Regions from separate parts of the Homo sapiens genome. Here regions 1, 3, 4, 5 and 6 are each linked to region 2. Evidence: promoter capture Hi-C in 16 types of primary human blood cells and fetal thymus (Javierre and others, 2016). All regions are on one chromosome and are shown on one strand. The core of a region is centred on a gene start or on the middle of the fragment in contact, and the rest is flanking DNA. Distances in the headings are between cores, read along the strand shown. Region 1 overlaps CCDC152 (coiled-coil domain containing 152). Region 2 holds the start of FBXO4 (F-box protein 4). Region 3 overlaps GHR (growth hormone receptor). Region 4 overlaps GHR (growth hormone receptor). Region 5 has its middle 67 kb from the start of SELENOP. Region 6 overlaps CCDC152 (coiled-coil domain containing 152).

What was found. The method cuts DNA at HindIII sites, captures the fragments that hold promoters and counts their contacts. A CHiCAGO score of 5 or more calls a contact.
Region 1: a contact is called between a fragment that was not itself captured here and the fragment with the promoter of FBXO4 in region 2, in 1 of 17 cell types (M1 macrophages). The highest score is 6.1, in M1 macrophages.
Region 3: a contact is called between a fragment that was not itself captured here and the fragment with the promoter of FBXO4 in region 2, in 4 of 17 cell types (M1 macrophages, M2 macrophages, M0 macrophages and 1 more). The highest score is 6.3, in M1 macrophages.
Region 4: a contact is called between a fragment that was not itself captured here and the fragment with the promoter of FBXO4 in region 2, in 2 of 17 cell types (naive B cells and total B cells). The highest score is 11.3, in naive B cells.
Region 5: a fragment that was not itself captured here is called in contact with the fragment with the promoter of FBXO4 in region 2 in 4 of 17 cell types (erythroblasts, M2 macrophages, megakaryocytes and 1 more); the score reaches 8.7 in erythroblasts.
Region 6: a fragment that was not itself captured here is called in contact with the fragment with the promoter of FBXO4 in region 2 in 3 of 17 cell types (M1 macrophages, M2 macrophages and M0 macrophages); the score reaches 7.5 in M1 macrophages.

Annotation. Positions count from the first base shown.
Region 1 is chr5:42,799,783-42,803,995 of GRCh38, forward strand. It overlaps CCDC152 (coiled-coil domain containing 152), which reads left to right. Exons shown (of 9, transcript NM_001134848.2): 9 at 1-2,657. SELENOP (selenoprotein P) reads right to left here. Exons shown (of 5, transcript NM_005410.4): 5 at 98-1,549. The coding sequence ends at 938. Among named protein-coding and RNA genes, the nearest start is that of SELENOP, 10 kb to the right of the region's middle. RefSeq lists an enhancer at 3,950-4,213. The HindIII fragment of the contact is 756 bases long and covers 1,581-2,336 here.
Region 2 is chr5:41,923,614-41,927,855 of GRCh38, forward strand. FBXO4 (F-box protein 4) reads left to right here and starts at 1,668. Exons shown (of 7, transcript NM_012176.3): 1 at 1,668-1,885; 2 at 3,400-3,635. The coding sequence starts at 1,697. RefSeq lists a silencer at 1,926-2,105. The HindIII fragment of the contact is 6,278 bases long and covers 203-4,242 here.
Region 3 is chr5:42,720,954-42,725,126 of GRCh38, forward strand. It overlaps GHR (growth hormone receptor), which reads left to right. Exons shown (of 10, transcript NM_000163.5): 10 at 1-925. Among named protein-coding and RNA genes, the nearest start is that of CCDC152, 34 kb to the right of the region's middle. The HindIII fragment of the contact is 2,576 bases long and covers 441-3,016 here.
Region 4 is chr5:42,652,961-42,656,823 of GRCh38, forward strand. The region is part of intron 3 of GHR (growth hormone receptor); the gene reads left to right. Among named protein-coding and RNA genes, the nearest start is that of CCDC152, 100 kb to the right of the region's middle. The HindIII fragment of the contact is 1,212 bases long and covers 1,719-2,930 here.
Region 5 is chr5:42,876,680-42,880,979 of GRCh38, forward strand. No RefSeq gene overlaps it. Among named protein-coding and RNA genes, the nearest start is that of SELENOP, 67 kb to the left of the region's middle. The HindIII fragment of the contact is 687 bases long and covers 2,681-3,367 here.
Region 6 is chr5:42,776,828-42,781,323 of GRCh38, forward strand. CCDC152 (coiled-coil domain containing 152) reads left to right here. Exons shown (of 9, transcript NM_001134848.2): 5 at 2,631-2,695. Among named protein-coding and RNA genes, the nearest start is that of CCDC152, 22 kb to the left of the region's middle. The HindIII fragment of the contact is 5,271 bases long and covers 154-4,496 here.

The DNA.
Region 1 (4,213 bases), core at 709-3,208, 880 kb after region 2:
CTTAGCAGTAAATTCATTAGTTGGTATTTATTTAAAAGCAATCGAAAGTTTCACTTCTGTTTTCAATATATGCATACAGCCTACATAACAAACGAAGTCAGCTTTAAGGTTTTTATTGAATTTATTTGGACAAATCCGTACTGTATCCAATTCTGTACTGCATTCTTGCTTAATAGTATTAACCATAAAGGAGGTCAGGTTTATAGGGTTTGGTTTACCTATTAAACCATCATTGACTATGGAAATACTTACTAAGCAATATAGAGACAGACAATATTATCTTTCCCCTTATATCTTTTAAGACAGCCACTCAAGTTTTAGAAGAGTATGATACAACATTAGAGAAAGAAAGATACAAAGGCTTTATTCATGTGTGATAGTAAAAATCAGGATGAGTCTTAGATATACAAAAGATAAATGGATATTTAAAATAGTTATATATGCTTTTTTAGCAAAATATTCACGTGTTAAGTATTTCTGGATCTTAAAATACAAAATCCACTTATTTTATTAGTTAAAAGTAGAAGATTGAAAAGACAAAGTAATATTGTTTTGAGAGATAAGTAAAGAAAAAAATGGAAAGCATGTCTTTGTTGTTCTTCCTCCATTCTAAACTGCTAATTATCCAACAGAAACCCCTAGGTCATAGTTTACGTTTCTATTCTCATTAAAGCAAATAGAACACTGGAAAAAGAAAAAAAAAGACATATTAACCAAAAGCTGCAATCACCTTTCAGTTGCTCCATCATAAAAAATATGGTTTGAGTCAATATTTCTATGACATAAAATTTAAAATCTGGAAGCCAATTCAGTAGATTTCTCCATGTTTGCACAAATCTAATTTCTATTTTTGGTTCACTAATTTGGTAGTTTATAAAAATGCTGGAAATGAAATTGTGTCTAGACTAAATTGGGGAGTATGTCCTATTTTAAATATTTAGTTTGAAGGTCATTCTCACTTTTTTGCCTGATTCTTTCAGCGTCAACTGGCACTGGCTTCTGTGGGTATAAGCTGCTGACTTATTTGTCAGGCAGCTGGAGGCAAACGTCACTGACAAGATTCAGTTATGTTCTCCTCTGCCCGAAGTCCCTGTCAGCTACATAAAGATGGGAGGTTTTCTTTACACTGTCAGGTGATTGCAGACCCTGTTTTTTCAAATATCAGATGTCGACAATGGCAGCATCAGCTCCTAGGAGCCAACTCTGAATCTGTGGGCAATTTACAGAGTAATTGATTTATACATCTCTTTCGACAGAGCTTCTTTTGTAAATCTTGTAAATCTTCACTTGCTGGCATATCTCGGTTCTCTGGGTGACCCTGCCTATGCTGACCCTTGTGCTTATGGTGGTGATGAAGGCCTGGAGGAGCAGGATGAGTAGGAGCATTTGGTGCTCCTGGTTGCTGATTCTCTGAAAGCTCACTGCTGCCAAGGTGCTGATGTCCATGATTGTGATGATGCTCATGATGGTAATGAGGCGATGGAGTTTCAACTGTTTTATCCACAGTAGCCAAAGATACACGTTTACAAAAGTCTTCATCTTTGAGAGTCTGGAACAAATTTATAAATCACTTTTTAACAAGCTTATAGAGATAGGAATAATGCGTGAAAAATGATTTGTAGAGCTAACATGTGAAATTCCAACTAGTTAATTAGAATCGAGCTGGCTTTGTATTATATTAATGAGAAAGAGTCTGATGTTAGTCTCAACACCTAGACATTTTATTAAAGGCTTAAAAAGAAAGCCAAACCACTGTACTTATATTTGCAGAAGCAAATGAAGTAAACTGGCAAAAGGAACTTGGATTGCAGGAAAGTCAAAGTAATATCAAATCCTAAATTCAGTTGATCTGGGCCGAGCATGGTGGCTCATGCCTGTAATCCCACCACTTTGGGTGGCCGAGGGGGGCAGATTACTTGGGCTCAGGAGTCGGAGACCAGCCTGGGCAACATGGCGAGATCCTGTCTCTGCAAAATATACAAAAATTAGCTGGGTGTGGTGTCAGATGCCTGTAGTCCCAGCTACTTGTGAGGCTGAGGTGGGAGGATCGTTTGAGCCTGCAAGATGGAGGTTGCAGTGAGCTCAGATGGTGCCACTGCACTCCAGCCTGGGTGACAGAGTCAGACCCTATCTCAAAAAAATAAAAAATAAATAAAAAATCAGTTGAACTATATGGAAACTTCTGTACCTGTGTCAACGGTGCATCTTATCTAATACTATATGATACTGTAATCTAATATTATCTCTGATAATTCAAAAATGCTAATAAACTCTGCTCAAATGTGTTAGTTTTTCATACTTCATCCTATGCCAGGAAATGTTTTGAACTTCACCAAAGCTTTGCTAATGTCTCCCTACCATAAGGCTGTCAGCTGAAAATAGCAAATTACTGCCCGACTCCCATTGACCATAATATCCATTCCGCATGATCCTAGTTCTTTAATTTACTGGAAGTCTTTACTGTTTTGTGGTACCTACTAATCAGAGACTCAAAGCCTATAGATACAGAAATGTAACAGTAAATCTCAACCTAAGGCTAATTTGCAAATAAAATTACAAAATCAACTTAGAACCCAAAGACTCACTAAGTGATATGCTTTTGATGTTTTGAAGGTTTTAAAAGGTTATAAATTCCATTAAATTTTAGCATACAACTACTAAGTGGTACTTTATTTGGTTATTTCTGAATTACTTCTACATTAGAAGCTAATAATGTTTGCTTACAAACTTATAAAGAATTTGATACATGTTTAAAATATACTGTGTAATGTTCAAAGTGTTCAAGGTTTAAACAAACACAAATACCTATGGTAGTAGTCTAATTTCTTTCATTTATTTATTTATTTAGTGACGGAGTCTCACTCTTTCGCCAGGCTGGAGTGCAGTGGCACGACCTCGACTCACTGCAACTTCCGCCTCCTAGGTTCAAGTGATTCTCCTGCCCCAGCCTCCCAAGCAGCTGGGATTGCAGACACGTGCCACCACGCCCAGCTAATTTTTGTATTTTTAGTAGAGATGGGGTTTCACCATGTTGGCCAGGATGGTCTCGATCTATTGACCTCGTGATTCATCCACCTCGGCCTCCCAAAGTGCTGGGATTACAGGCGTGGGCCACCGCACCCTGCCAGTAGTCTAATTTCAGAAACGAATTACTATATTTTACTGATTATGTGATGCATATTTCTTTAGATTTTAATATCTCTAAAATTAGAATGTACCATACTGTTGGTGGTGGTTTCTCACTGTATCCTACTTTAATTAGCAGCATTTTTTTTTCCTAAATACTACATAAGATAATATGTCAAATAATCAGTGGTATCTAGGAGACAATGAAATAGAAAAACTCCAATCGGATTTGGCATATCAGATACTAATAGTGTCTGATCTGTAATTTGTATTTACAGATGATTCACACATTTTAAGCATATTGTGGTAACTATTAACTGCCTTTTTCAATATAACTGGGTATATTTATAACTAGCAAGCATTTGCACAAATGAGAAATGCAGAAATAATCCCAAAATATGAGGAATCATTATAATTAGTATTTATTAAATGCTTAGTATAGGTTGAGTTAGTACTTTTCTTTCATTACTCTTAGTATTTTCTTCCATTACCTCAGTCTCCTCATCTTTAAAAATAGTAAAATAACCCTCAAAAGATCATTATAAAGATTAAAATGTGAAAATTACATAACTAGAGTAAGTAACTTATACTCCTTAACAACTAAATTAATTAATTAAATTCGTTAAAAATTTGAGGCGGCTTTCTTTAGACCTGGGGAAAATCTGAAGGAAATACAACTTACAGATAAAATTGTGAATTGTTTTTAAACCTAAGTTCAAATTTTCCCAATCTGACTTCTCAATGGAACATTGTTTAGAATTATTTTCCTTTTTGTTATGAAGGAAAACAAGTCTAGTTAATACAAATTAAATTCTTTGAGTGCCTTTTTTATTTAAAAAAGATTTAAATATAGTTCTTCTCATAACAAAGAAGAAATATTTTCATGGTTGTTAGGAAATAAATACCAGTAATGAGTAGAAAACTTACTCCATTTTGAAGTAAACTCAGACTGCAGATGGGCAGGCAGTGGAAGGGCTTCAGGAAAAATCTGATAGCCTTGCATCTTCAATAAATTAAGTAGTTTCTGGCCCCAGTTCCATTCCAAGTAATGCTGTGGGTAAGCTTTGCTATTTTTATGTTCTTGTGC
Region 2 (4,242 bases), core at 418-2,917:
GCAGGAGGATCACTTGAGCCTGGGAGGTCGAGACCAGCCTGGAAAACATGGTGAAACTCCATCTCTACTAACAAAAAAAAAAAAAAAAGAAGAAGAAGAATATAGAAAAAAGAAAGTCCAGAGTGGTCCAGAAAGACCAACCTGCTTTCTTTAACAAATATCAAGGGAAAATAAAGGAGGGGGAGCTATACAATGAAACTTAAGCTTTAAGAGTATCCGTAATGTGTGACCCTTGTTGGGCTATGATTCAAACAAATCAAATGTGAAAAATTATTTTCAAAGCAGATGGGGAAGTTAAACACTGACTCGGTATTTGGTGATTTTAATGAATTAAAATTGCTTAGGTACAGTGGTCTGTTTCTTAAAATCTGTTTTTTTTAGGGACGGATACTGAGATATTTACAGATGATAGGTCTGGGATTTGTTTCAAAAGGATCCAGAATTGGGGGTGTAGTATTAGGTGAGTATAGCAACAGCACAAGATTAACCAGGTGTTGGTAATGGAATCTTGGATACTGGGCACACAGGAGCATATTATTCACTCTCCTTTTATAAATGTTCAAAATTTTCCGTAATAAAGTTTTTCTCATTCATTTAACAGATATCATTTTAATACTTTATACTTGAACTGATTTTTTTTCTTGCTCTAGTTCGTTTTTTGCTCTCAAAGTAAATCGTGTCCTAGAAAGTGATGAGAAATGCCATATGGTTAATCCGTGGTCCTTGTCCAGATTGCCTCCCAAAAACGAGGCTGCAATTTTATTGGTTATTGGCCCCTACCAACAACATGCAAATAATAAAATGTAATGAAACTTAAACTTGTATGTTACAGAGCCTTGCAGAACCTTAGTTATCAGGCTTTCTTGGATTCTGTTGACATTTAGATCCTCAGAGATTTACTTTTTGAATGTATACATACCCAGTTCTATGTAACAGATTAACTTGTAATACGTTCTCTTAAAGCACTTTTAAAGTAAGCCCAAAGTAAGTAGAATGGGCATCTGGTTTGAGAATTAAAAAACTCACTAGTGGGATTTCAACACCACCACATCTGGGTTCTTCTAGCCGTTTTTTGCCGCCCTTGCAAATTTTAAATGTGCTTATATTTTTGCATAGTGGGTCCAGACTTCTCATTTTGGCAAAAGGTTCTTTGTAATTGGCCCGCTGACTGCCTCTCTAGTCTGTTTTTGCTGATACTCAAGAAAATAAATGGTAACTTGGTGATTGAGGAAATAACACACACAAAAAACACCCCATACGTAGTATGGTAGTGCTGAAAAGGAAGCAAGTGGTTATTAAGCCCAAGACAGTGGCAGAGGTCTATCGAACAAGCGGAGTCGCCTAGGACCAGGCATAGTGGAAATGATCCCGGAGAGAACATCTTGAATGAAGCCAGGAAGTCAGCGGGCCAGAGGTTGTACAGGGGCTCTGCGGTTGGCGTGGCTGAGGTTGAGGCCACAAGTTACTGGGGAAGTTAATTGTTGACAGGAGCTTCGTACTCGGCTCACAGCCACGCACAGTGGGCTTCCTCCCAGTACCCGCCCTTGCCCCTGGGCCTAACCCTGCCCTGGAGGCGGACTCGCGGGAGAAGCGGGAGGCGGAACGCCCGAGGGCGCCCTCGGCTGGCGCGGAGCTGCGCAGGAGGCTGACGCGCTAGCGTGGCTCTAAGACGCGTCACCCACGCTGCGGGCAAGCCATGGCGGGAAGCGAGCCGCGCAGCGGAACAAACTCGCCGCCGCCGCCCTTCAGCGACTGGGGCCGCCTGGAGGCGGCCATCCTCAGCGGCTGGAAGACCTTCTGGCAGTCAGTGAGCAAGGAGAGGGTGGCGCGTACGACCTCACGGGAGGAGGTGGATGAGGCGGCCAGCACCCTGACGCGGCTGCCGGTGAGCGTCGGCCGCAGGCCGCGGAGGACAGTGGGGCCGGCCCGGGCCGGAGGGACCTCCCCTGGAGCCCCCCGGGGCCTGGGGAACTCTCGCGCCCCGGCCTGGGTCTGGCTCCGTCCATGCAGCCATTCCTGGCAGTGTAGTCACCGAGAAGCTACAGTTGATCAGAAGCGTCTTGGCGTGGACCCTGGTGCTCCGCAGGGGGCCCGAACATCTCAGGGAAGCACCTTCATGGGGCCCCTGGGGACCCTCCCGATCGCCCTCAGGTTTTCCACCCGCCAAAACAGGCACATGTGACTAGGACACCCTGAATGTCCGGTTACGGAAATGAGACAGTTCCCAACTTGCTGATTAGCTTGGGAAAGCATTCCAGCGTCCCTGTTCCCAGCGTCTTTGATTCCGGATCACTGTACCAAAACACTTGGAGGGCCAAGGTTTTTACCCTCTCAAGAGGACATTGTGCCTGTGGCTGTTATTGTGTATTTGAAGAAACAAAACGGCCCCTCAGTTGAAAATAAATGACTTAAGTTACAAGTGCCTCAAGTTACATCAAGGCCACGAGAATGACACACATAACTTATTGTTAAACTTTGGGGTAGATAGGTAAATGAAGAGAACAAAAATTATTGAAAATTATTACAATTCTTTGTCTCATTTGGACTATTGACACCTCTCTCCAATGTGTATATCAACGTGAAAGCTGCAGGTTTAGAATGCCTCCAAGTTTCTCCTTGCAGAGGTTTTTCATAACATTTTAATAGATTCTGTAGAGGAACTAAGATGACAAATTTACGGCCGGGCGCGGTGGCTCACGCCTGTAATCCCAGCACTTTGGGAGACCCAGGTGGGCGGATCACGAGGTCAGGAGATCAAGACCATCCTGGCTAACACGGTGAAACCCCGTCTCTACTAAAAATATAAAAAATTAGCCGGGCTTGGTGGCAGGCGCCTGTAGTCCCAGCTACTTGGGAGGCTGAGGCAGGAGCATGGCGTGAACCTGGGAGACGGAGCTTGCAGTGAGCCGAGATCTTGCCACTGCACTCCAGCCTGGGCGACAGAGCGAGACTGTGTCTCAAAAAAGAAAAAGACAAATGTACACTCTTTGATTTGGTCTGATGATAAAATCAGATAAAGGTTGATATGGGTTTTATTTTGAAGGACAAATTATTTCCTTAACTAATTTATGTAACTAACTGGTATATCCAAATATCTCTGAGGAAAAATTAAAGGAACTGGTGATTTTGCTGGAAAAATAGCAAGACAGTGGTTGCTTTTTCAGGAATGTTTCAGGTGTTTCAGAAATTAAATGTTTAACAACTACGAAACTAAAATGTTCAGTTATGATCCTTTGCTGATAGCAGGAAAATAATAGATTTAATTATTAATGGTAGATTTAGTTATTAAAAATACTAGTCAGTTGACCTTTTGTTATTTATTTGTTGATTATGTGGTTTATCACCCAAAAACTATTTTCTTCATTCCTTTTTCCTACCTGCTGCTTTCTTCTGTTTCAGATTGATGTACAGCTATATATTTTGTCCTTTCTTTCACCTCATGATCTGTGTCAGTTGGGAAGTACAAATCATTATTGGAATGAAACTGTAAGAGATCCAATTCTGTGGAGATACTTTTTGTTGAGGGATCTTCCTTCTTGGTCTTCTGTTGACTGGAAGTCTCTTCCAGATCTAGAAATCTTAAAAAAGCCTATATCTGAGGTCACTGATGGTGCATTTTTTGACTACATGGCAGTGTAAGTATCTAGTTTTATGAATTAAAAAGAAGCTATTAAATTTTCCTGTATTACTAGTCAATATCCAAGTTAATCCTGACCCTGCTACTGATTTGTTGCGTGGATTTGGGGTCTAATTGTTCTCGTCAAAACTGGGAGTTAAATGACTTCCTTCATAGGACCCTTTCAGCTTTAATATTTTATTATTTCCCTGTGGTGCCTAACCAGTATTTGAATAATTATAAGTAGTATAGATGGCAAGAAGTAAAAGACTTCTTAAAAGTCTCATGATCTTTAGAACAATTGTCATTTTGTTAAATAAGTAAATACTTTTCCGTATTCAGAAAAAGGATGATCAGAGACCCCTGTTGTTTGGCAGGGAAGAAGAAAACCATTCTAAAGGCTCTGAGAAATAAGATTATATTAGCACCGAAAAGCACTGACATTTTTTAATATTGCGTAGGTGAGATAATTAATGTTACTGAGCAACTGCAGTGTACTGGATTCTACGAGGGATGCTTTATGTATGTTTTACTCATTTAATCCTCATGCAACAAGAAGGTGTTATCTTTGTATCCCAGATGTGGAATTAAGGTTCATGGAGGTTATGTGATTTGCCTAAAGTCAT
Region 3 (4,173 bases), core at 479-2,978, 800 kb after region 2:
CGCTCTGTCGCCAGGCTAGAGTGCGGTGGCGCGATCTTGACTCACTGCAATCTCCACCTCCCACAGGTTCAGGCGATTCCCGTGCCTCAGCCTCCTGAGTAGCTGGGACTACAGGCACGCACCACCATGCCAGGCTAATTTTTTTGTATTTTAGCAGAGACGGGGTTTCACCATGTTGGCCAGGATGGTCTCGATCTCCTGACCTCGTGATCCACCCGACTCGGCCTCCCAAAGTGCTGGGATTACAGGTGTAAGCCACCGTGCCCAGCCCTAAACATCATTCTTGAGAGCATTGGGATATCTCCTGAAAAGGTTTATGAAAAAGAAGAATCTCATCTCAGTGAAGAATACTTCTCATTTTTTAAAAAAGCTTAAAACTTTGAAGTTAGCTTTAACTTAAATAGTATTTCCCATTTATCGCAGACCTTTTTTAGGAAGCAAGCTTAATGGCTGATAATTTTAAATTCTCTCTCTTGCAGGAAGGACTATGAAAAGCTAGAATTGAGTGTTTAAAGTTCAACATGTTATTTGTAATAGATGTTTGATAGATTTTCTGCTACTTTGCTGCTATGGTTTTCTCCAAGAGCTACATAATTTAGTTTCATATAAAGTATCATCAGTGTAGAACCTAATTCAATTCAAAGCTGTGTGTTTGGAAGACTATCTTACTATTTCACAACAGCCTGACAACATTTCTATAGCCAAAAATAGCTAAATACCTCAATCAGTCTCAGAATGTCATTTTGGTACTTTGGTGGCCACATAAGCCATTATTCACTAGTATGACTAGTTGTGTCTGGCAGTTTATATTTAACTCTCTTTATGTCTGTGGATTTTTTCCTTCAAAGTTTAATAAATTTATTTTCTTGGATTCCTGATAGTGTGCTTCTGTTATCAAACACCAACATAAAAATGATCTAAACCACTCTGTATACTGTGAATTATCATTGTAAGGAGAGCTTAGCACCACTGGATCAAATACATCAGCATTGGGTATGGAGATTTTTATGTGCTGAGATATAGAGAGGGAAACATATCCCCCTTCCCTTATTTTTTGAGAAGACAAAAGCCCAACTCAGAAATATCCCACTGGCTTGGCCCTCCCCTTAGGCTGTGACTCCCCATAGGCAAAGGTTCATAGAGCTGTGTATTTGATGCATCATGGAAAATAAATGACATGGGTGTTGGATGAGGGAGAGTGATATGTGAGCATTATCTTTACATTTCCAGCTTGAGCATGTTGTCTGGAAGGAAGGAAAGCAGCTCTTCCTCTGCCATTCACCCATTGGCCTAAGTCAGTTTATTGGACTAGCTGCTTGTTATCATGGGAATCAGCTAATAAGTCAGGCTTGGGAGGAAGGCTGATTAGGTAAGTTGTGTAGGAGCCTGAGAGAGCCATGAAGTTTAGATTCCTACAGCAGGAGGCAGGATGCAGGTGAGGTAGCTGCTGAACCCTAGGCTCCTGAGCAGGCACTGGATTCTGAGATGTAGGAATCTGGTGAGGACATTGATAAACCTACTAAACAATGACGTATTGCTTCAGCAAGTCAAATGCAAAGTGCCACAACTTTTTATAATACTCAAGTGTTATGTTAAAAAAAAAAAATGTCTTCACCTGCTGCCCTCTGCCCTGTGAGCAGCCATTACCTGAAAGAACCATGGAGTGAAGCCTCAGGGCTTCTTCATATAGATGCTTTAAGATATGAGGAGTACAGGGAAAAGAAAGCCTGCCTACTTCCATGGATTGAAATAACACAATTCTATTTCAGAAGATTAATGGTGTGTTGAAAATGGCTACACACATCTTTCAGCATTTCAATTTCTCAAAGTTTCTACTAACACTTTATTCAAGTGCTATAATATTTACATATTTACATATTTGTATACCAAAATATGTCTTGTTATGTGCTTGTTTTAGGGTAAGAAATAGTGACCAGAAAAACCAGAAGTTACTTAAATCTAAACTTTTTAGTTTGGAATCCAAGATCCCACATAATTTGCCCCAGTCTCCTTTGAGAGTTTAAAATTTAAGACCTAGATGTAAAGGGCACAGCTTCTGAATAAGAATTTGATGTTTGGTTAACATTCAAACTCTATTGCTGTGGAAATCTAATGAGCATATGATGTCAGCTATGTTACACGGGAAACATTGCTCATAGTTTAAATGATCTCTGACTGATAAATGACATCTGGATAGGGAGAAACTATAACCACCTGGAGATAAGTTATACTTTGGACTTGAGTGTAGTGACTTGTAATTAAGCATTTCCCCTATAGAAACTCTGGAAGCTATGTTTCTGGAGATGTAACAAGAGTAACTGGCTCCAGTGAGGCATAGAGCTTCTAAGCCTGGGAGACTCCTTTACCTGCCCAATACCTTCTCTGAATCTGAGCTGCCAGTTGTAGGAGGAGAGGAAGGAAAAGACCTTCTGGATAGCTATATAAACAGCTGTTTAGATTGCTTCATGCACTGTTATCATTACTGTGACTCTAAAGCAGAAAGCCTGATGCTGTATCCCTTCTGTCCTACATCCCTCTGAGTAGACTGGAACCAAGTATGGTGAATCTGGGGAATGTGTGGTTGAGCCTAAGAAGATCCCCTTGCATATGTAGCAAAAGACACTTGCCATTTCTTGAACAAAGTTTGTGCTTTCCCATCTCTATGTTCTTGGTCATGCCTCCTCCTTCAACTAAAAAGCTCCCACTTACCAACCCTGCCTGTCAAGATTCCCTTCATCCTTCATGGCCCAGCTCTAATGCCTCCTTCATGAACTCTCCTCTGATTCCCACCATCCAATCAGTGATTTTTTCTTCTGAACCATGTTTAATGGTGTTTATCACATTACTTTGGTAGCTCACCTGACAAACGGCTAGTATAGATTTACCAGTATGTACGCTGGTGAATATCTATCTCCAAAATGCCCTTGAATGGATAATTTTGTGGTCAAATAAATTTGGAAAACATCTCATACTACACTCCCATCTGGGAGAGTCATAGTGCATCTTGACATTTTAAAGCTTCTACAGTTTAAAGAAATCCATTTAAATTTAACACATTATTTCCTAATTAATAATGAGAAATAGTTAAAGAATACCCAGTATTATATTATTAACACTTAGGAAAAACCGTATAAGCAGAGTAACACACCTGGCACAAAATAAAGTTATATTAAATTTCAGATGAATGTGAATTTGAACAAAACCTTTTATATGATGTCATTAAATTTTTACTCTCAATAAAACTTCCTAAAAATTGAATGCGAAGGAGCTGCATGATTAAAATAAACACAGATTCTTCTCAACTCAACTCAGATATGACATTTTTCTGAAAGTCTGGATGTCTTAGAGCATTCATTATCTTCTCTATGACAGTGACTTTTTATATGCTTGCTGAAACAGATTTTAACTTTTTCCCTTTTTCAGTCCAAAGAATGATTGACATATGGAATGTACCAATATTAAAAAATTCTGATTCTTATTTAGGACACCCATTTTTCTATGAAATCTGAGCTTATAACACCAAGAAATGCTTATATCACTTCTCATAAGAAGGAGCATATGTTGCTGTGAAACTGCAGAATAATATTTATCTGTTATTATCTGAACAAAAATAACTCACTCCTAATGCTGCCTGCTAAGTTAAAAAAAAAAACTTCGAATATAATAGATTTTTTCACAGTAGTCCCAGGAAGCAGTCTTTGTAGGAATACATAGAAATCAATTTTGTTGATCTCTTGTTAGAAAAGAATCCTTACACAATTGTTCTGTGGGCATTAAGAGATGTTACCAGCTTTTTCTATAAGGATAAAATAATTTGTGAAGAAATTATACTCACTTTGGCTTTGACAATGGTACTGTAGTCAAAAATTCAAAGTCGAAAGATTTTTATTGTTACCTTTCCTTTTATGGTACCATATGATAAAAAAAAACTTGCATATAAGGACTTTATAAAGTACTTTCAAAGGTATTATTTCATTTAAACTTAAGAAATCTGTGTTGTAGGCTTGTCAGATATTATTCTTAATATTTTATTGGGAAAAAAGGCTCGTAAAAACTAAGAGATTTTCCCAAAGTTAATAAACTAGTGAGTGATGAAGTCAGGATGAAAACCCATGTTGACTAGTCCAGAGTTCCCAAAACAATGCAACCTATAACATTACTGGATGGGGGAAA
Region 4 (3,863 bases), core at 1,075-3,574, 730 kb after region 2:
GGACTTCCTGGGCATGGTGCTTTCCATCTCTGGGCCAAAGTTTTCTCATCTTTACAAAAGGATTACGATCAACCCCCATCTCATACTGTGGTTAGGAGAATTGAGCAAGACCATATACTAAAAGATGTCAGAACAGGGCCTGACAGATCATAGTGCCCAATAAACATTGGCTCTTGTTATCATCATAAATATGTTAAAATGAGCTTTAGTATGTGGATAATAGTAGCAGAATTTCCTGAATGAGACATGTTAAACATTTATTAAGCAGGCACTTTTTGGAGTTTATCTTATAATAATTCAGTAAGGTTACTCTTGTCATCCCTATTTCACTGAATTTGAGGAATCTCAGGCTGCAAGATAACGTATTAGTTTTCTAGAATCAAATAAGCAAGGATTCAAACTCAGGATATATTGACCCCAAAACCTCAGATCTTTCTGCCATCCCTATCTTGTTCTAAACCCCAGGTTTGCTCATCCGGGCCCTAGTCATTGATCAAAAAGCACCAATACAAATCAGAGTAGAGAAAGTCATATTGAGCTTGTGAGGTTGTATTATGGGCATGGTAACAAATGTAATTCAGCTGTATTGGCACAGTGCATAACAACCACACTTAATTTCTGTCCTAAGACCTGTCTGAGCCCATAAATAAAGTTACATTAATAATTACGGAATGGTAAGGGACCACTCAGAAAATCTTGGTTGATATAGGAAGTGGCATCTGTGGCTTCTAATTGAGAGATATTGCTTCTTGAATCAGTGCTAGACCATTGCTCTAGGGGGATATTAAGCCTTCTCTGTCCATGGAAGATGTGAAATTCAACAGCTGACCTGACTGCTTGTCGCTGTTGATGATCCTATAAAATTTCCTCTAAGATACGAACTCTGTGTTCTAGTCCAAATCAAGTGAATATTTCCTGTTGGTTGACCTACAACTTCAAGGGTATGAGGTCATAAGTTTAAAAAGATTCCTTTTCTCCCCAGTGTTGTAAGAGTTATTTTAGTTCTATCAAATGCTCCCAGTGAGTACTGCATATTTCCTTTTTGCCAGATACATTAGCTATTCACTCTTTTTTCCTATCTCTTCTATGCTTTTATTTTTTCCCTCATCTGTTTAACCAATGGTACCCTGAATTTTAGAACCAGACAGGTAGTAGGACAAGGCAGGTGAAAATGCACAGGTTGTAAATTTCAGAATGCACATTCAAATTCCATCGTTGTCTCTTACTAACTGAATGAATGTAGGTAAGATGCTTTACCTCTCAGAGTCTTACTTACCCCATCTATAAAATGAGAATAATACAAACTGTCTTCTGTGGTTTTCTTGAGCATTAAACGTCTCTATTTATGGAACATAGTTTCACATAGTAACTGATTCTGTACCAATGCCCTGCCCCCCATGTAGGCAAATGCATGTCCCGAAAGACCCAAAACAAGTTGTCCCTCTTTTCAAGATGAAGATTTGTAATCTCTCCTTAAACTTATCCAGTTCTGGTGTTTAATTTCCTTTATAAGCCAGAAGTTGTTTTACGTCTCACCAAATCTTATAACATGAATATTACACTGTCTTCCAAATGTGAGCCTCTAATTACCTTAGGCCAATAGCAGAGCCTCTGATCTTGTCTTTTCTCCTTTTCCGCTTACCAGACAGCACATTCTGCCTGAGAGTTGAGACCCAAAAAGATATAAATCAACTAGGGGGCAAAAATGGAGTTTCCTAAGCTTGTCCCAGAGTTTGACTCAGTAGCCTGAGGTGGAGTTCAGGGGCTTGATGTTAAAAACAAGCTACCCCAGTGGTTTTGCTGCAGGTGGACCAGACTCCCAAGACCACATTTTGCAAGCACTGGCATTTAGGAAGAGCACGTACCTACTCTAGCAGAGTTTATGCAGACTATGATTGCAGCCTAGTTTGTGCAGACTATTGATTGCAGCCACTTGGCAAGGCTCTATAAGAAAAAGCGAGCCAACATGTAAGTAAATTATCATGGCCTTGAAACTCCTCATCTGAAAGGGTTTCCTCTCATCCCCTCATCCCCTTGTGTCTGCCCCTGAATGCCAGACTATCTTCTCCAGCCCCAAGTCAACCTCTCATTTTTAAGCCATTCCTCATTCTCCTATATAGTCCAAAATAGCGAATACATTTTTAGGAATTCTCTTGCTTTATGGACGTTCATCCAAAAATATTTCATTATGAGAATAAGTGCTTAGCTTATCCTGTAGTGTCTTTCTGCTCTAATATTTGGGCCCTTCCTTTCCACATAGTTGCATTTTCTTTGACGGGCAGATGCTGCTCCTTTAATATTTTTCACACCTTTGTGCTTCTAACAGAGCAATTATTTCAGGATGAGGGCACTTGGAGAGCTGTAAGAGGATAAGGAGCCCAGGGCTCTGCCTTGGATTTGTGTACCTAAATGTTACCTAATTAGATAAACCTGAGGAAGATGTGGAAGCAAAGTAGAATGGAACAGAAAGTGTTTGAATAATAAGAATTTGGACATTGCTGCTCCGTGGTGACATTGGCAGACTCTAAGCCTCTTGCCTCATTTTATTCATTCATGTATGACGGGGTTATGCTCAGTCATAAGTCACTAAAATTTGTATTCTACATCCCATTAGTAAAGTAATTTTTGAACACATGATACATATGTTTACATATTTGTAAGTTATATATATGTACAAGGTTCTAATATATTCTGTTCATTGTCAAACATAAAATATATATAAATTTGGTTTAATATAAAATATAAAATTGGCATTAGTAGACACTGTCTACCGAAATGAGACACTGTCTCATTTCTGAAAAAAGCACAATGTATACTAAGTTAAAGGTTCATTCTTAACAGCAGTAGGAGTAGATCTTTATTTCAAATAGTCTTTGGGATAATTTCCTATTTTGGAAGACAGCTTATCAGATTTGGTTAGAGTTGATGAAAGCTTATTCTAGGGTTAAGAAAAGTATTAGCCCAGCCATTTTCTTATTGTTGATTTGGGCTTGCATAATTAGTTTTACCTTCAGTATGAAGTTTCTTTACATGAATCTTTTTAACTCACTTATTTGTTATACAATTATTAGTTAAATCAATTTTAAATCAGTATAATCTATCCACAAAATCAGTCATACAGAACCTGCAAAAAACATGTTCTAACATGTTACATGAAGAGGTAACTAAAGATACTACAAACAACCCCTCTGAACGGTAACACTCCCACTCTTCCTGCAAAATTCCTCTCATAGCAAATGCAACATGTGACTCAGACACAGGCTGACTGAAGGCTTTATGCAACTCTTACATGCTCAATATTAGAAAACTTTCATTTGTTTCCTATTTTATATAAACAACACATATAAATAAACATTTTAGTATCTTCTCATTACCCAGTGGATTGTCTTGCATGGTCCATTTTGAAGACAGTAAACTGTAGCCTCTATTTTTATTTAATTTCAAATACCTGTTTGCCAATATTCACAGCCAGCTCTTGTTAATGTTCTTTTCTGTCCTGTGAATCCTGATGTCGTATCTTGCAACATCACCTCTAAAGCCTATCTTTGCACTCCTGTCCATCCCCCATTCTCTATTATTATGCTGCCTCTGATGGCCAGAGAAAAAAATCTTGAAAATATATATTGTATTGCCCTACCTGGCGAGGAATCAGCAGTTATACAATTCAAAGTTGCAGCAATTCACCACATTGTTTAGCACCCTACTATGTGTAAGGAGGAAGCTTGATTTAAAAAATATATACAATCATGCCTTCTTCAAGAATGTTTTGGAGCATGCAAGAGCTTAATGCTCATGGACATTTACTTTATTCCAGCAAATTTAGACCCAATCTCTGTGTAGTTTCATTTTGTTTTCCATTTCCT
Region 5 (4,300 bases), core at 1,774-4,273, 950 kb after region 2:
GTGAAATAGTGGTTCAGTAAATGTGTCTCCCAGTTCATCCAGGATAATCAGGACTTCAAGTGTTCTGTTAGTGGACACCATACGTGCACTGAATCTGATCAACGCATGTGCTTTCATTTTCAGCTAAGAAAGCAAGTTCATGATAAATAGCCTTGGAAGGGCAATGCTTTTATTTCAAGCAGGAAAACCATTTACTCTGCTTGTTACTAGCTGAATAACTTTGTGAAGCTCATTTAAAATCTCTGAGCAACAATTTCCTTATAAGCAAATGGGATAATGACAGCTGACTAAGAGGGTGGTGAGGAATTAAAAAAAAAAGTTAGATAACTTGTCTAAGGCTGCTACTAAAATGTCTGAGACTTTAATAGACCTTCAACAAATGATAGTTTTTATTATCTGAGCATTCAGAGAGCAACCCATAAGCATGTGACACCATCTTTAGGAAAGAGTTTTACTGAGGTGAGTTGTATACATGCATGCAGAAAGGCTTACAGGCAGGTAAGCCCCCTGCACTGTCCCGGGGAAGTTCAGGTGACAAGGCCAGGAGTGCTGGGAAAAGTGAGAAAAGAGGACTCCTTCAGCACAGGTTTATGAAACTCCAAATAATGGAAGGATCTGGCTCTCAATGGCTAGAAGAATCCATCGGGGTGAAGTCCAGAGCGCCATACCCTCCTTCCTCCCCAACCTACACCCTAAGCATCTGTGCCTCCCATTTCAGGGGTACAGAGCCTGTAGGGACCTCAGGTAAAGGCCAGGTGCATTAGAGGATAGAAGAAGAAGGAAATGGGTAATGAGTGCTTTGGAGACATTTGTAACAAGAGCTCAGAACAGGGGCTCAACTACAGAAAAAAGAGGCAGCTCTCACTCCACCAACTAAAGTCAAAAAGGTAATCATCCTAGGCAATGTAGTCAGACTTGTCCACGCTCTGCCTCAGACACATATTCATCTACATATGCAGTGTCCAGGCTCAACCTCCAAGTTTACAGGAAATCCTGATCTCCCTTCTCTCCATGATTTAATCTTTCCCTAACCCAGGTTTAATTCCTCCTTCTTCCCTTTGTCTAGAATCAGGAAATACCAGGACCTCGGTGTGGTGAGGGGCCTTAGATGTGACTGACCTTCACCTTGTAAAGCAGTCACTGGTACTCTAAAAGGTTAGGAGACTTGCCCCCATTACACACCTAAGCGATGGCACAGTCCAGACCTGAATACAGAATTTTATTCTACTTTATTATGCTGCATGTGGGTACTTATACTACAATCCCTGGGTAAAGTGGTCATTCTTAAAGTGAACTAACTTTCAAGACTGAAATTGAACATGCCTGGGCTCAAATCCAGGCTCTAATAGCTGAATGATCTTGGGCAAGCAACTGAACTTTACAGAACCTCAGCTTCATGGTTCACCAATTAAAATAATACTCTACATCAGTTACCTTGAGGATGAAAAGAGATAGCATGCAACATAGTGTGTGCCTCCAACACCACAGGTGCTCAATGTTGCTTAATATTGTCATTAATTAAGCTGTGATCAGTCACTGAACTTCAGACTGCTGCAAAGGGCTAAAGTGTCCAGAAGGCTTGAGAAAGAAGAGCCTTCTGAGGAGGAGAAAGTGGAGATTGGTTAGCTTTGTGTATTTGGTAATTCAGAGGCCTGCTAAACTCAAGAGCATATGGAGGGGTCTGGGACAAAGACCAGAGGGAAACAGAGAGCTCAAACCTTTGAGTCCCTCTTGGCTGTTTTATCAAGTTCTCTTTAAAGCAAGTGACCTTCTAACCATTGAGGACTCAAAGCCAGTAGGAAGAGCACAGAAAGTGAAAGGCATCAGAGTTGTCCTTGGGATGAAAGCAGAATCTCTGTGATGGTAGTGTTCTTGCTGGGGCAGTCATATCAGTAATATCCCTGAAAATCCTCGTACTATGACTCTAAACTTAAAAAAATAAAATAGAGACAAAAAAAGGAAGGGACGAGCAAGAAAGCTAACCCTGAAAATTTTTCAGTATCAAATTATAGCAACAGACCTTTTGTCCACCGTAGAGTTAAGAAAACTAAACAAACACTACGGTTACACAGAAACCAGATGTCTCTGCTACACTGACAGGTTGCATGCTGGAATTCCAGATGCTATTCTGTTGACCAAGATACATATTCACACATTTTTTGAATTATTGTAATCCTAAAGTGAATTGCCCAAAATGCAAAAAGAACTCCCTTTGGGGTGTTTTTTTAAAAAGGTGAGTTAGGAGAAAAAAGTTACCAATTTTATTTTAAGAACTAAAGCCAGCTACTTAAGAGTCTGAGTGTTAGGATCTGAAAAAGATAAGCTGGCTTCACTATAAAAATTGTGAATTCAGCATTTAGCTTTTTCAATGAAAAAGAAGAAAAGACTAGGAAAAAGAAGAGAATGTTTGTCCTGATATTTAGCTCTTCTCTAGGTATAGGCCACATCTTAAATCATTAGATGTCAAAAACGAAAAAGCATTTTGTAGGCCTGTGCTCAGGAAAGTGTATCAATAAGTCTATTTTCTGCTCATGCATGTGTGTGTGTGTGTGTGCGTGTGTGTGTGTGTGTGTGTGTGTGTGTTTAGGTGGGATTTGGAGTGGATTTCCATTTCCATGGGGATGGTGGGTAGTCTGGAAAGCAGAAAATCTAAAATTCTCTGTCTTGGAACTTAAAGTAAAGCTTCCTGGTGACCTACTGCCAAGCTGATGATCAGGCCTCAGCACAGGCAGGAACAGCAGACAGTCCAGCTCTGACCTCACAAAGGGAAACTTCAGTCTATAAATGCTAATCAAACATATCGCCCTGCAGGATCCACTTGTAAGAGAATTGCCTCTAGAGTGGACTTTGCTATGAACTCGTCTCTGAGGCTGTTTTATGATCTTTATGATAGTCAGGCATTGGGAGGGTGATCATTTTAGGTTACCAGGGCCCTAGCCTTGATTTGCACCATATGACCCAGGCAGATTTCCAAGAGAAAGAATCTGCAAGCCAAACCAGTGGATCTTAATCTAGAGTCTTCAGACACTCAAGGTGTCCTTGAAAGTAACAATAAAAGTCTGAGAAGTTTCTTTAAGATAGTGTTTTCTAAAAAGCATATCTTCATTTGCTCACTATAATGCTGCAAATGCTTGCTAGATCCCCAAGTTTCTATGCTTTTAGCTAAAATTATGTCATTCATTTTAGAAACAAGAGTAATTAGTCATTGACCACAAAATTCAATATGTGAAAAATCTAAGCATAAATTAGACTGGTTCCTTATATGATAGAAGTATTTTCTACTTCACTAAAATATTTGCAGTGTTTACATATTAGCATTTTCTTATATTTTTTACCTTAACTTTTTAATATATATTGAGTCACTATAAGCTTATAGTTATAATTCTGCCAATTTCCTTGAGAATTGTGTTTTCAGTTAAGTTCCCAAACAAACAAGTGTTTTAACAGACACTTGGGCTAAGAGATTGGCTAGTAGTTCTTTTTGTAAGTTGAGAATTTTAATGAGGTTAAAATATAAATTTAAAACTGTTTCATCTCTGCATGAATAAATGGACTTACTCTTCCACCATTTTATAGTGATGGTAAACAATGATAGCATGTTGATTTATTCAGAATTTGTAGTGTAAATTTCTACTGCGTAAAGTATACACACAATTTGTAAAAATTAAGGATAAAGAGGACTAATGGAGTAGCCATCTTCCTTCCCCTCCTCCTATATGCCCAAAGTAATTTAGAGTTGATTTGAAGCCACTTCTCTAGCAATTGGACTTGCATAGAATCGTGGGGGTTCACACATCACCAGCCCAGGAAACTTCAGGCTGTCCTTTGTTACTCTGTTTACTGAAATTGACATATCAGCAAGTTCAAAATTATCCTGAATAGTAGTTTTGGCATGTTCTACCTCTGGACCAGTGATAACTGTAGTCAGTGTATAATCCTTCCTGTTCAAATGGCCACACAGATTTCCTTAATGGCTTGACCTGCCAAGAGCTGGAGGCCTTAATCATCCCAGGAAAGAGGATGCCAAATACGGAGGATTTTAATTACTCTCATTTTCTTGGAGGAAAATCTCTTACAATCTTTGAAATATATTGCTTAGAACATTCCATATCTGAAAAGTAATGTTTTCTGTTAGCATCTATTGTGCAATTGGCTATAATGTGTTTACTTAAGAAAATATGGAGATGGCTTTTAACTAATTCAAAAACACAGTAAGACAGGGTATGTACACAATATTACATTTACTTAGTATGACAGTAAAGAATCCTTGTTCCCTTTTCTGGGACTTTGAGTTTAGCTC
Region 6 (4,496 bases), core at 1,539-4,038, 850 kb after region 2:
CAAATATCAACAGAAAATTTAAAATATTTTGAACTAAATAAAAATACAATTTATTAAAATTTGTGAAATGCTGCAAAAACCACAGTGCTTAAAGAGATATTTATAGCGTTAAATGTGCATATGAGAAGACAACAAAAAACTAAAATTAATTTAAGCTTCCACTTTAGGAAATAAGAAAAAGGAGAACAAATTAAATCCAAAATAAGTAAAAAAAAGAAATAACAAAAATAAAGCAGAAATTAATAAAATTGAAAACAAGAAATCAATAGAGAGCAATGAAACTAAAAGCTGTTTTTTTGAAAAGATCAATAAAATTGACAAGTCTGTAGCCAGATGAACTAAGGAAATAGGAGAGATTACTCAAGTTAATAATATCAGAAATGAAAGAAAGGACATCACTACAAATGTCATGTTCATTAAGAGGATAATAAAGGAGACCAGCCTGGCCAACATGGTGAAACCCCATCTCTACCAAAAATACAAAAATTAGCCGGGCATGGTGGTGTGTGCCTGTAATCCCAGCTACTCGGGGGCCGAGGCAGGAAAATAGCTTGAACCCAGGAGGGGGAGGTTGCAGGGAGCTAAGATCGCGCCATCGCACTCCAGCCTGGGGGACAAGAGCAAGACTTCATCTCAATATAAAAAAAAAAAAGAAGAAGAAGAAGATAATAAAGGAATACTCTGAACAACTCTGTGCTCAACTCAAATATTTGATAGCCTATGTGAAATGGACTAATTTCTTGAAAGACACAATCTGACAAACTGAAACCATCATCAGAATTAAGATTTGTATTAAATATGACCCTTAAAAGTGTAACACTTTTCCTATCGGTTTCTCATCACAACCTTTGAAAACTAATAGATTTTAGATCTTTACTTAATTTTAATACTTTGATATAATGCCTCTGCAAGTTTTATATGTGGACCCTATTTCCAAGGCTCCTTTCAATGTTACTGTACTACAGAACAAACCTTCCTAAAGCATTGTTCAGATAATGTCAAAAATCTTTACTGATTTGTCATTGTTTTGTTTAGCTAATTCTTAGTTTTGTTTATAGTCAAGGTTTTAATTTTAATACTGTGGTTTAATACCTCTGCAATAGTTTCATAAGTGGACTCTATTTCCAAGGCTCCTCTCAACTTTACTATACCACAAAACAAACCTTCCTAAAAGCATTATTCAGATAATGTCAAAAATCTTTACTGATTTGTTGTTTTGTTTAACTACTTCTTGGTTGTGTTTATAGTTAAGGTTGTAGAGGGGAAATTGTAATAGGATGTCTATTGAGGCTTTTCCTGTTTACCAGGAATTAGTGACTAGGGCACATGCCACAATTAACAACAAAATAGCTACATATTTCCATATTCTAGTGACATCTGCTAAAAAGTCGCCAAATGTTGGAGTGAGTCCAGACTGCATATATTTGCTACAACCACCTAAAGGACTGGAACCTCGAAGTTAAATAGAGAATTTTTTACCTCTCCTCATTTCCTGTCTCCACCCCCCAAGAGATGACCCAGAGGAAAGACAGGGAAGAGCAACTAAGGAGGAAACTAAGACTTCTTTCCCACTTCTATTGACTCTTTACAGCCACTGATCTAGCCAGTGATAAGGATCATGAAAACTTTCAATCAAATAGGAAATTACAGTTTTAAACCGACCTGGATGTTTAGTAATCAAAATTAACCACAGGGTTTTTAAAATTTGTTAAAAATATTAAGGTATTGTTTTCAGTTACCCAAACCAAAAACCTAAAAAGAAAAGGCTCCCCCTTTCTCTTTTGCCTCCTCTATCTAAAGGGTCACTAAATTCCTAGGTAATTCTATCATCTAAATAATAATTCTCCTCATTGCTTCCTTTTTTCCATACTGCCGCTGACGTAATTTAGGTTCCTGTTATCTCTTACTTGACCTATAGTTACTGATCTCCATTCCTCTAGGGTCAAAACCCTCTCATTCATCATCCACATTGCCAGATAATCGTTTTAGCATGTAACTCTCATTATTTCACTTCTGCACTATTCAAAATTCTTTGATGACTCCCTGTAACCTCTAAAACCAAAATCCAAAATTGTTCATCTAGAATATGTAGAATATGTCTACCTAGTGATAGGATCCCAACCTATATAGCATCTCCTGCTCACACTTTACACTTCAACAATACCGTACGTGAATTGTAGTTTTTCCAAGCTATATTCACTCAAGCCCATGGTCTTCTGTGCGATTTTCTGCATTTAGAATGCTCTCTCTTAACATGGGGTAAGCCTATCACTTAAATCTCGTCTCAAGTAGCTTCTCTTCTCTAAATCCTTTCCTGACTTCAAGCTGCCCTAGGTTTTCTTTTTACAGGTTCCTGTAGTATTTCAGATATACTGCCATTAAAGAGCAATTATCATAGCATATTATAACTACTAACACATTTGACTCAGCACTAGGCTGTAAGTTCTTTGAAGAGCAGTAACTCTTTTCACTTTCATATTCTCAGTGTCTAGCATGGTGCCTGAAGTGTAGCAGCTGCTGGATGCATGTTTGTTGAATGCATACATAATGGAAGCTAAAATGTTGAACATATTTTCATATTAATTGAAAAGTGCTATATATTATGATGTTCTTTGATTATTCTTACACAGGTGAAAATGAACAACTAAAAATAAGTGCTGATCTTATAAAAGAGAAGTTAAAGTCTCATGAACAGGTGAGTTTATGTATCATTCTATTCAGTCAAGTCCCTGTGGAGATTTATCTTTTCAAATTAGGAAAAAAAAAGAGGTTTTTAAATTAATAAACACAGCCAAATGTTTGTGGGTGTGTGTGTGTGTGGAGATATACGTATATATGCCAAAATCTTTAGTAAATGACAATTTGTTTTCAAAGCAATACTAGTTTTAAGAGTTTTTTTTTTTTACAAAATATAATGTACTAACAAATAACTTGCATTACTTTTTCTTTCTACCAAAAAGAGATGCAGTTATTTTGCTACATAATTTTCAATTATGTTAATAGAGGTTTTACTCTAGTAAACTCTATTTGTTACTACTTGTGAACTTTCTTATTATAATGTAAATGAATCTATACTCTTTATGATTTGGGTAATCATTACACCATTCCAATACAGGGGGCATTTCATGTGGATCACAAATTATTTCTCTCCCAGGAGCCACCATACCCTCTGCTACTTTTCCTTATCTCCTGTAGGAACAGTGTAGTGACAGCAGTTGTAGAACACATGAACAGCGTGTAAAAAGCATAAAAGATGCTAAATAAATGTCAGTTCCCTCTGCTCTTTGAGAGGTTCATTATGCTAACTTCCTCATCTCTCAAGAGCTAATATGTCAAATTCTAGCAGACAAAAGATCCTCAAAACTCAAGTTGAATCTATAGGAGCTTTCAACTTGAAGAATCTTCTCTAAATTCAGTCTGGTTCCTCATCTGAGGACCCTCTGAAGAAATCTGCCCAGAACTTCTGGTTAATCCTGTACAGTAATAAGTAGCATTCTGGCTATGCTCTTAGAAAATTTAGCTTTTCATCACCAATTTTGAGATGGTTTTTAAGTATTTCTGAAATGAATCCTACCCTTTCTCCCCCTTTCTTTTCCTTTTTCCCTTTATTCTTTCCCAATCCTTTTAATATATTGACTCTAGATCTCAAAAATAGATGGTAAAGTCAGGTTGTAATTGGGGTGGGGAACCAGGGGGAGAAAATTTGACCTGCTTTCCTTTCTAAAACTTCAAGCACTAGGATACTGCTTTGTTGAGAATACTACAGGAATGTTCAGAGGGGAAGAAATTAAAGAGAAAACACCACAACCCAAGAGTCTGAATTTCTTACTTAGGGGCTGCCCAAAGCAAACTATGACAACGCAGATTTGCTAATTCAAAACCTCTGAACACATCTAAAATTCATGGAGAAAACTCCCCAGGAACAAACTCAGGAGGTACCCAATAGCAGTATTTGTGAGAGTAGAAGGATTTTGCAACTTGTATAGAGAGAATCATTGTTTTTTATATCAAGAGTGAAACTGGAGGCTATTCCTTGGAATTTAAAATTCCCAGAAAGCATATGAAAAGAAGACAACCAATTGTAACCTATTGGGGATTAGTCTCCTTAGAAAAATGAAAAGATTACATTTTTTAGGAATGGCACAGGCTAAAGTGGAAGAGAAGATCTAGTGGGATAGAACTTGGCTCAACCCAGATAGAATAGTCTTCATGCCTGGAGGCTGAAATGCAAATCCTGGGTCTCACCGAATTAACTGGCAGCATTCCACTTTCCTGGTGACATCTTCCTGTGGCAAAAATCAGTGGAGAATAGAAAGGTACATAGGTTTGTCTCTTGTGGTTTCTCAGAGCAGCAACAGCTTAGTGCACACAGTTGTCAGGAGTAGTTTATAAAAGCTGCTCTGTAGTTGCCCATCTAGAAATCTAGATATATAGAAAATGGCAATTTGTGGGATTGCCAGCTGGGTTCACCTGCCCAGTTTTAATTAGAACCGAGA